Linked DNA regions of Homo sapiens: all the other regions are linked to region 2. The links are contacts of gene promoters, found by promoter capture Hi-C in blood cells and fetal thymus (Javierre and others, 2016). All regions are on one chromosome and are shown on one strand. The core of a region is centred on a gene start or on the middle of the fragment in contact, and the rest is flanking DNA. Distances in the headings are between cores, read along the strand shown.

Region 1 (3,612 bases), core at 1,094-3,593, 1.0 Mb before region 2:
TGGCCTGATCAGGGCTTGCTGCAGACTTAACTTCCCCCAGGCTCAGGTGATTCTCCCATTTCAGCCTCCTGAGTAGCCAGGAATACAGGCGCACATCATCACGCCCAGCTAATTTTTTTGTATTTTTTGAGGAGATGGGATTTCACCGTGTTGCCCAGACTGGTCTCGAAGTCCTGGGCTCAAGTGATCTGCCCATCTTGGCCTCGAAAAGTGCTGGGATTACAGGCATAAGCTACAGCGTACGACCCCAAACAAACACGGAATAAACATCAGAGGGTATAGTTACAAATGCAAATTCAAAAATAGCCAGGGGTACCTATAATTGCACTTTAGCTTTTCTTTCTTAATGTGGTACCCAGAAGAAAGAAACGGCGAGGATTAATACAGTCTGAATATGTGTGGCAAAGCAGAAATAAGAGCTAAACATGACAATGGTTCAAGGCATCAGGGAAACAGAGCAAAAATTACATACACGTCATTAATGAAAACGTTAGAGATGTATTGCTGGACAATAGGAATAAAGAAGGGGGATTAAGATTATCTAGTTATCCAACATCAGATTTTTTAAAAAAGAAAAAAAAGACAGTAATAGAAAACATGGGCCTGTGCAACTTGCAGTGTGCTGAGTAGGAGACAAAAACTTCAAACAAGGGTTTAAAAAGCCTTTTTACTTATTGAGAATATTGTAAGAAACTACAAATCACTTTCACTACCCTAGGGGGTTTTGATGAGGCTGCTTATGATAAGGCTGTTTAGTATTCTGTAATCACATAAATGAGATATTCATTTCAAGCATTTTTTAAATTAAAATCCCAGCACTTAATTAAACAAAACAGTTTTTGAGGTGTTTCAGTTCCATATAATGTCAAGTTTAGGAAGATCAAAAAGAGGTAGAGAAAATGAAAATGACTAGAGAAAAAAGTTACACAGAGGTCAAGATCCATAAGCACACAAAAAAACAAATCCATACGCAAAAAGAAACACTTGGACAGATACAGGTACTTGGGCTCTGAGATGAATGTTAGTCCAAGTAAACTGCGCTTGCCAGGCTCTGTGGCTCCAATCAGCCTGTGTGTACTGGAGGGGAGTTACCACTATCTTATGAAAACACTGAATAGACATTATTAAACATTCTGCAACTGCTCCTAGCCTTAATCCTGAAATTGTTTCACTTTAAAGGATATGGCTGACAAAGCCTAGTAGAAAGGAAATTACTCTCGGGACTGCAGCCATGATGCTTGTGCTATAGCACACCAAGGGCCAAAGGAAATAAAGCCAAAAATCAAATCAATCATTGGCCTGGGGTTCCCTACCCCCAATTTAGAACTTTCCTAGTAATGAAGTTCTCTGAGGAGGAAATGTTCAGCTAGACTAGAGGAAGAGGAGGCTGAGAACAGAGACTTAAGAGGGAACCACCCTTAAAATCAGCAACAATGAAACCAGTCAAGGAAAACAGTTACAGAAGGTAGAATTAGACAGTGTCAAGAAAGACTGAATATCCAATGTATACTAATATAAAGATCTAGATAGCTAAAGAACAGAACAAACCTTTTAGATTTGGCATTAGAAATCATCATCTATAGATTAAGCTTGAAATTCACACAACAATGAAATTTAGGAGTTAATATTGAAACAAGTAATATGCCAGTAGTCTGAAATATTGTTATTCATAGCTAAGGGGTCGGAGAGACTTCGACTCTTGACTTATAACTTTAGTTTAATCTGGAAACACTTATCCTTTTTATACATGGAATTCTAAAAGCTTTATATAAGCATTTTATGGCAAATATATTGTCTTTGGATATCAAAAGTTGTTTGGTTTTATTTGTCAAACAACTGGCAAATACATTTGCAACTGTTTTTCTGTCGACAACTTTGTAAATCATCACATAAGCCCGATTATATTTTTTTAAAAACTAATCTTTATATTAAGAAATAGGCACATTTGAAATAAAGAAGATTCTCTATCACAAATAGTGTGTTTCTTCTTGGATTTTTCAAGGGCTTATACTAATTTAAATCATTCTATAAATTCTGTATGCTTAATGCTAAAGGTAATTTTTATATCTTAAACTTCATATAAATAGCCAGATTCCTAAGCTAAGAATAAAGTCGATTTTATAAAATTTCATCTAAACATTTTCATAGCCACTCCATAATTAGAATTCTCAAGACCTCTCCTTCTAAATAGTTTCCTAACTGATATCCTTATCTCTGTTATCTCCTCATTGCCATCCACCCAGAATTAGCTTTCTCAAACACAAAGGACATGTCACCCCCATCTTCAAAAACCACAATGCCTCTCACCTCCTAATGACAGGATATAGATTTGCAACTTCAAGAGTTTATTAACAAAACACTCTGAAAGTTCAAAATGCCTTTTACCTTAAAAATTAAAATATATGTACATTTTCCCTAACGTGCATATTTAGAAACCTTCAAATAGTTTTATATCTCTCAAATAATCTAATAAAATGGATATGCCAAGAAAAGGTACCATATTTGTCCTGGATGTCTCATTCTTGCCAGTATACAGCCGAGTACCCCAGTTTTAAATGTGCTGACATTTTGATACATACTGAATACACTAGGGGACTGTAAAGCTCTTGATAATTTGGCCCCAATCTTCTTCCTTCTTGCATTCCCCACTACTCTACATATACCTTATACTTAACTCTAAAGAAAAGTATTTATCCCCTATTCTTGCATATGCCTCCTCCCAGAAAGCCTTTTCACTTATCTCCACAAGAAGTCCTACCTATACATCAAGGTCCAGCTCAAATCCTGCCCTCCTCCAGGTAATACTCTCTAACAGCCTCTTCCTTTCTCCTACACTTTGCAGTCCCTTGTGGTGCTAATCACAATCCATCGCATGTTGTTTGTATAAGGATGCATACAACATACCAGCTAAGAATCCAAGCTTTGGAACCAGAGAAACCCTGGTCAACCTCTAACTCTGCTACCTACTAGAAGTGAGCTTGGGCAAGTTACTTAAGATCATCCAGCATGTTTCCTAATCTACTATATGAAGATAAAGACAGCAACAATAGAAAACTGAGGACTACTTGTGGGGGAGGTAAGAGGAGGGGTAAGGGTTGAAAAACTATTGAACTATTGAGTACTATGCTCAGTACCTGGGTGACAAGATCGTTGGTAACTAAAATCTCAATATCATGCAATAAACCCAGGCAATGAACCTGCATATGAATCTAAAATAAAAGTTGGAATCTAAAATGAATCTAAAATAAAAGTTAGAAGGAAAAAAAAAAACAGTAGCTATCTAACAGGATTAGTCTCAGAATCAAAAACAGTGATGTATAATATAAAAAGCACTTAGCACAATACTAACACATAGGAACAGTTTAATAAATGTGCCTATTATTACCTAGTCTGAGTCCAAAATGGTCACACCTACATCTTATTCTTTTTTTTAATTCTTTCCCACTTCTCTTTTGTGTTATGCTGCTTGTACTTAATAATTATTTAGTTAATAAAATCTGATCAATTCAGAAGTAAATTCCTAGGTAGATCTTAACAAGGTGAAGTCCAAACTCCAGTAAATGTCAAAAAATGGCTTATTATCCATATTATTAGCAGTTAGTTTTAGTATTA
Region 2 (3,665 bases), core at 703-3,202:
CCTGTTGAAGCCCCTTCCCCCTGAACTGGCCGACAATTTTCCTTCCATATACATTAAAAGCATAGTCTGTATTTTGACCTGATGGAAAAGATATAGACAGGATCTGGGACAAAGCCACCAAATCTTTTGTTCCCTTGGACACTCGATAGAATAAATGTTTTCCACGTCACACAGAAGAATGTTAAGTGCTTTGTTTCTGCAGAAGTGGAACAGAGATAGTGGGAGCATCTGTCAAAACCCCCAAAATGCTTTAATGTGGTGGCAGCTGGCTGGGAGGAGCAGGAGCCCAGTTCCCTAAAAGCCAATAGTTCTGGAAATGGAGGAGGGCTGTTTGAACCAGCGCGTTAACATCACCCAGGAGCTTGTTAGAAAGGTACATTCTCAAGTCCCTCCCAGGACCAACTGAGTCAGAAATTCTAGGGCTGAAGTCCAGGAATCTGTGTTTTAACAATCCCTCCAGGTAATTCTGAAGTTTGAGAACCGGTGGAATAAGGCCAGGGAACTCACACAAGGCCACAGCTCTTAGGTGACCTAAAAAAAAGTGGACGACAGCTGAGGAGCCACCATGCCTGGTGTGGCCAGGCCTGTACTGAAGCAGCTGAGGGCGCGTCCACGCCCGTCAAACCATCCCGGGCACCCCGTCTCACCACCAGCCTCTCCCCGACGTCTGTTGTGACTTGACCTATGCTCGTGGCACAGGGAAAGGGCTGTGGCCTCTCAGGCTCCCAGGCTATTATTAGTTCCAATCCGCACAAATCTACCAGTGCTAAAGGGAAGCTTCTGCGAACTTTGGAAGGTGGATTAACTGTTTCAGAGCAGCAGCTGCGGGCCCAGATAGTTGTCGGAGCCGCTAGACACAGCCAAGCGCTTCCCTGAAAGCCAAGGCCGGCGGCGAGCTGGTGGTCCCGCCGGCCGGAGGCCCCTCCCCGCCAGGCCGCAGAACCCGGGTCGGAGAGCAGCCAGTCTCAACCTGCGTCCCCAAGGCCGAGGATGTGTCCTGGTTTTTTAAAAAGCTGTTTGCGCACTTCCAGGGCCTCACCCCTTTCATTTGGGGCTCCAGTATTACTGTATTGACCTAATTAATTCATTTTTTTCTCAGTCCAAAGTGGAAGCCGGAGCACAGGGATGCAAATCAAATACAAACCCGTCCTGGGTGCCAATACTCTGGACAATTAAAACAAAGAGCGCAGTGGTGGCGGTGGCGGCGGCACCACACAAAACCCTCGGGAAACATCCAGAACGTGCCGCGAACCAGCCGGCAGGGTGGGGCGCAGCCCGGCTGCAAACATGCCAGCAAGGAGGCAGTCCCAACCCCGCAGGTGGACAGGTGGAGGTTGGCAGGGGTCAAAATCCATCCTGAAGGCCTGGGAGCCGGGCAGCTGCGCGGCACAACTCCAGGGGGCACACTCGCCCTGCGCCCTGCGGGAATGGCGCCCCGGCCAAAAAAGCAACCAGACAAAAACCCATTGCACGGGCGGGAACTGGTCTGTGCGACCCGCAAAAGGGGTGGGTGGGAGAGGAAGAATGCGGAAGCGAGGAAGAGGATGGGAAGGGAGAAAGAGGAAAGGGAGGAAAAGGAGAAAGTGAAAAAGAGAGGGGGTTTGGGAGCGCGAGGGGAGAAGGAAGAGGGAGCCGGAGGGAGAGGAGGGGGATCGCAGAGAGCAGGAGCGCGGAAGGGGGGCGGGGGAGGAGCAGAGAGAAAGGGAAAGGGGGGTGCGCCGGGGCCCAGCGACCCGGGCGGGGGGTGGCGGCGGCCAAGGGGCGGGACCCGGGTCGGTGCCCACCTGCGTGGGCGCCCGCTGCTCCGAGGGGTGGAAGCCCGGGGGCCAGAGGGAGCGGCCGGGAGGAGGGCTGGGCAGGGAGGCAGAGGGGAGGGAGGGGACGGGGACGGGGAGGCGGGGAGGAGCCGGCGCTCGGCTGGGGCTGCGGGGGCGGCGACGGCGGGAGCGGCAGTGGCGGCGGCGGCGGGTCCGGAGGTGGCGGCAGGTGGCCCCGCGCGCGGCGGCCGGCCCGGCCGGGGGCGGGCGGGAAGGTGGCGCCTCGGGCGGGGGCCGGTCCCTGCACCAGGTGACCTGTTCCGGCCCGGATCCGGGCGGCCTCGCCATGCAGCGGCGCGGCGCGGGGCTCGGGTGGCCGCGGCAGCAGCAGCAGCAACCCCCGCCGCTCGCGGTCGGCCCCCGGGCCGCAGCCATGGTCCCGAGTGGCGGCGTCCCCCAGGGCCTCGGCGGCCGCTCTGCCTGCGCGCTGCTCCTGCTCTGCTACCTGGTGAGCGCCGGACCCTGCCCGGGTCTTCCCCTCCGCGCGGGGCCCCGGGGACGCGGGTGGGGGCGGCCGGGGACACCCGCCACGCGGGGCGGGGACGCCGCTGCTAGTTTTCTCTCTTCCTCGTCGCTGCGCCCCGGGCGTTCCCGGCACCTGGGATAGGTACCCCGGGCGTGGAGAGGGGCGCTTGGACCGGACTTGCCAAGCTGCTCTCTCGCTCGTGCTCATTCCTTTCCCTCCTGGACTCTCTCTAGACCCGGGTCGGGTTACCCTCGAGACCCCTTCTTGTCCTCGACTCCACCCGGGAGCCTCGCCGCCCGGAGTTCGCTCCCCGCCCCGCCGCGCGCAGTCTCCAGCACCCCCCAACCCCCCACCCCTCCTGGGCTTCCCTCTCAATCTTCTCGCAGCTCCTTTCCTTCCCGTGCCCAACTTCGCCTCTTACTCTCGGCGCCCGCCACCCGCGTCGACCCTCCTTTTAGTTTCCACCGGGTCCTCCCGGCCCGGACAGTTTTCTGCCAACGCACCTCGCATCTCCAGCGCTCTTCAACTCCTCCTTGGTCACTCCAGCCAAGTTGCGGATGCCGGAAAGAAATCTAGTTCTCTGTAACACGCTTACCGCCAGAGTGGTGACTTTAGCTGCGTCTTGAACATTGTCATTTCAGAGAATATGTTTGGCTCATGCATGTCAGTTTGCAATTTGCACACTTCTTGGCTTCTGTTTTAGTCATCAACTAAAGGGCAGTAACCTATTTTTCAAAACCCATTTATTTTAAATACCAGAGTAGCTGAGACCCCTCAGAACAAAGTGGGGAGAAATTTTCTCAGTTCCTTTGAGGGCTTGCTTGCTTCTGTTTTGAGTTCTCCTAAACAATAGTAAATTTACAGAAGGCGACACCCTTCCTGCCCAGAGTAACTTATGTTCCACAATCCTGCAGAAACCTTGGGTTATCTCGCCATATATTACTGTAAATAAATGAAATGGAAAATGCTGAATCATGAAACTGATGTAATAGGAAATTCACAGAATGCCAAAAAAAAAAAAAAAAAGAGCAGTGTCATTGTCCAGAATTCATTTCACTTATGTGGCATTGTCATTATTTGGAGTCTTTCTTTTTGGAAGCTAAAAACTGCTTAGGAGATACTGGCAGAAATTAGAATTTGATTCTGAAGAAATTTGCCACTCAGCCCGTTTCTTTTAACGTTTTTTACTTCTTGAATGTTTCATTTCTTGAAGCAAGAAGGTGTAAAAATGCAAATTATAATTCTGCCTGTGCATCTACCTGTTGAGCAATCCGTGCTTTTACTCATATTTCAGAATTAGCCAATATCAAATTGTGTGGTTGGGCTTACTTCATATTTTCATAAGAAGTTGTCAGTTAACATGAATGATATTTTTTTGCCCA
Region 3 (3,382 bases), core at 883-3,382, 1.0 Mb before region 2:
ATGTAGATACATGTATAAAACAATTAATTATTTTAAGTTACATCTTTGAGTATTTTAAGTGCAACTAAATAATTGGTAATATAATTACAGATATGCACTATATAAAATTATATTATTAATTTGTAATAATGAACATATACATTCATTCCTTCTGGTTCTATTTCTGTACAGAACCCTAATACAGGGTCTTTTAAAACATTAAGAGAAAAAATAGCCACTCTTTGCTTCAAAGGATACATCTAGAACCCAAAGAAAGTACTGAAAGATTTTAGTTTAATGCAACAAAGAACTTCTCACAAACCAGAACTGCCTACTAATGGAAAAGTTGTTCAGGAGCAATAAGTTCCCAACCACCCAAAGTATCTGAGGAGCTAATGAATGACAGTCTATAAGGGATACACCGGAGAAGTTCCTGTAATTAGCAGACAGTTTGAGCTTTAGGCTTTGTCCACTTCCTTGAGTTCAATCAAAGTCTGTAATTCTGTAACAGCACGGTGTGATCTTAGATTATTAGCAAGATACATCTTAACCCAAGTAGAAAATGAAAGCAACATCAAACAAAACAGTAAAGAAAAAAAGCTCAAATAAATTCTAAGTTTTAAAGGGATCACGGACAAGGCAAGAGGCAAAAAAAAAAAAAAAAAAAAAAAAGTTTAATTATTTGGTTTGGTGCTTATTGTATCTTGTAACATTCAGCAGTTGAACACTACGGGTTGTTCCAATTTCCTAGCTCTTTAAATTATATCCTATAAAGGCATAAGCTTTTATGTCTTTACTTCACAATAAAGTTCATATAACAATGAACTTGATTTTCAGGACAACAGAACAGAAGGGCTTTCACTGTATTTAGCATCCACATATAGCTCCACCTATACCACCTATTACCACCTCCATAGCTAACAAGGGAGCTCTAGCACTTTCTCTCCCCGGACAAAAGCCTACTAATTGGTCTCCCTGCTCTAAGACTAGACCTTCTAGAGTGTCATTTCAGTGAAAGAGCTGAAGTGATCATTTCCAAACATAAATCAAATCATGTCACACTTCTCAAAAACCCTGCAGTAGCTCCCCATCTCAGAGTACATGACATACAATGACAATGTCCTCACATCTTGTAGATGATGTCTACAAGACTGTACATTCTAGCCCAGACAACCTCTCTGATCTATCTATTACTCTCTCCATTGCTTACTCTACACCAGCCCTGTGGTCTCCTGGAAGTTTCTCCAAAAATCCAACAATGGTATCCATCAGGGCCCATGCACATGCCATTCTCTCCACCTGAAGGGTCTCATCCCTCTGTCTCTCCCTTCTCTCTTGTCAAATGTCAACTATGAAGATTTCCCTGACCACCTTAAATAACAGCAAACACACATATACTTTCCCTAACATTCTCTACCTTCTCACCTATTTTATTTTCCTTCATTGCATTTATCATCTCCTGATAAATATTTGTCTACTTGTTAACTGTCTTATCCTCAGTGAAATTAAGCTCATCGTTTTCTTCATTGCTCCAATACCTACAACAATATCTGTAAGTGTTCAATGAGTATATATTGAAATAATATATTAGCCTTAAGCTAAAATTTCAAACAATCTTCTCAGTTATATGAATATGCTCCTACACAGAAAAAGCTTTAAGAAGGAAAAAGTTCATATACTGTCCTAGTTCTCCTTGCATCCTTCTCACTGATTTGGTTTTACAGAGAATATGAAAGTAAATGTTCTGCCCGTCACAGTTCTCCTCTGTTCCACTGAACCTCAAATTATGAGCTCACATAGCCACAACTTCCTTGTTTGTCAAATAAGAGGAACTGGCGCATGGTGATCAGCTTCTTAAAACTCAAGTATCTAAAAATCAGATTTAAAATAAGGTTTATATGTAATTTTCAATAAGCCATAATGGAATGTCTCAGTAATTAGGATAAATCAACACTGCATATTTACATGAATAGACATATACATATATATATATATATATATATATATATATATATATATATATATATATATATAACCTGAGGTGCTAAATTTGGCTTCATTCTCATAATACAACTAGCACTGAATGCTATATTTTCAGTTTTACTGCTCTTATAAACTACATAGCCTGGTAACCAAGGTAAACAATTTGTATATCTGAAAGTTACATTCTGAATTCACCCAGGCAAAACATAAACCTGAAAAAATAGTCAGAAATGAAAACTATGTCACAAATATCACACATTAAAATCCTACATGCTTTAGTTAAAGGAGGATCCTTCATACCATCAAGATTTACAATTCAAGCCTTGATACCCCTATTTTCCAGTCTTAGCAGATACCAAAAAATAAAATGACAGCTGTCCAGTAAATAAGCTGATACAATCATATGCTGATGACTCCATTTATTCACATTCAAAAATAGGGAAGCAAATCTATGGTATTAAAGTAAGGACAGTGGTTAACCTTAGGCAAAGGCACATACTGATTTCAAGAGGACATGAAGGACTTCTGGGTAAAGGCAACATTATGTTTCTCGATCTGGGTGCTAATAACATGTGAGTATTCACTTTGTTAAAAATGGTTGAAATGAGCTGTATACTGATGATTTGAGCCCTTTCCTGTACTGTTATACTGTATTTAAGTAAAAAGCTTTTGGAAAACTAGATATTACAGCAATTCAAAACCATGAAAAATAAGGTTGAACATGAACAGTGGAACACAAATCAACAATCCTTAAGAGTATCTGTGTTTTTGCATGTGTACTAACCCTAATATTGTACCCATTAACTGTACCCAATACATTCTGATTAAGAAAGTAGAGAAATAAGTCACACGTTTTAGAAATAATTTGACTCCAAAATGTTTGAAATAAAGCAAGTTTTATAATTCAAAGGAGTCAAGGTTCAATTACTCAAGAGGCAAGAGTACTGGTTAAGGATGTGAATCTTGTTGTGAGAATTCTGTCTCACCCACTTGCCAGTTCTGTGAACTCGTGTTTAACCTCTCTGGGTCTCCGTTACATTACCTATAAGATACGGATCTACCCCATAAGCTTGTGAGGACTAAATGAGTTATTTCATGTGAAGCATTCAGAACAGTTGCCTGATATACGTAAGTACTCAATAAATGGCTGTTCACTCATGTGGGATACTTAATCCCCCAATGGTGCTAAATAAACAGGGTGTTTCTACTACAGCCAACTGACAGATGAACACTGAAATGCAAAGAGCCCCTTCTTAAAATAGCTTGTACATTACCCTGCCTATACAACGACACAATTTCCTGTTAGTTTTCTTTATATTTAAATTTCCTAAAGCAGTTGCAGTAGAAGCAGTAAGTCACACTCCAGCCCTATTCTGGTTCTTTTCTAAACCTTTATTACAAACAGGTTTAAGAATTAAAT

Evidence for each region. The method cuts DNA at HindIII sites, captures the fragments that hold promoters and counts their contacts. A CHiCAGO score of 5 or more calls a contact.
Region 1: a contact is called between a fragment that was not itself captured here and the fragment with the promoter of SEL1L3 in region 2, in 4 of 17 cell types (activated CD4 T cells, naive CD8 T cells, erythroblasts and 1 more). The highest score is 7.5, in activated CD4 T cells.
Region 3: a fragment that was not itself captured here is called in contact with the fragment with the promoter of SEL1L3 in region 2 in 1 of 17 cell types (total B cells); the score reaches 5.0 in total B cells.

Annotation. Positions count from the first base shown.
Region 1 is chr4:26,865,648-26,869,259 of GRCh38, reverse strand. All of the region lies in intron 1 of STIM2 (stromal interaction molecule 2), which reads right to left. Among named protein-coding and RNA genes, the nearest start is that of STIM2, 6.6 kb to the right of the region's middle. The HindIII fragment of the contact is 1,158 bases long and covers 1,765-2,922 here.
Region 2 is chr4:25,861,275-25,864,939 of GRCh38, reverse strand. It overlaps SEL1L3 (SEL1L family member 3), which reads left to right and starts at 1,952. Exons shown (of 24, transcript NM_015187.5): 1 at 1,952-2,265. The coding sequence starts at 2,104. LOC102723733 (a long non-coding RNA gene) reads right to left here. Exons shown (of 2, transcript XR_427503.5): 1 at 2,787-3,665. RefSeq lists silencers at 1,719-1,878, 1,929-2,388, 2,659-2,953. The HindIII fragment of the contact is 3,672 bases long and covers 780-3,665 here.
Region 3 is chr4:26,884,453-26,887,834 of GRCh38, reverse strand. The region is part of intron 1 of STIM2 (stromal interaction molecule 2); the gene reads right to left. Among named protein-coding and RNA genes, the nearest start is that of STIM2, 25 kb to the right of the region's middle. The HindIII fragment of the contact is 996 bases long and covers 1,635-2,630 here.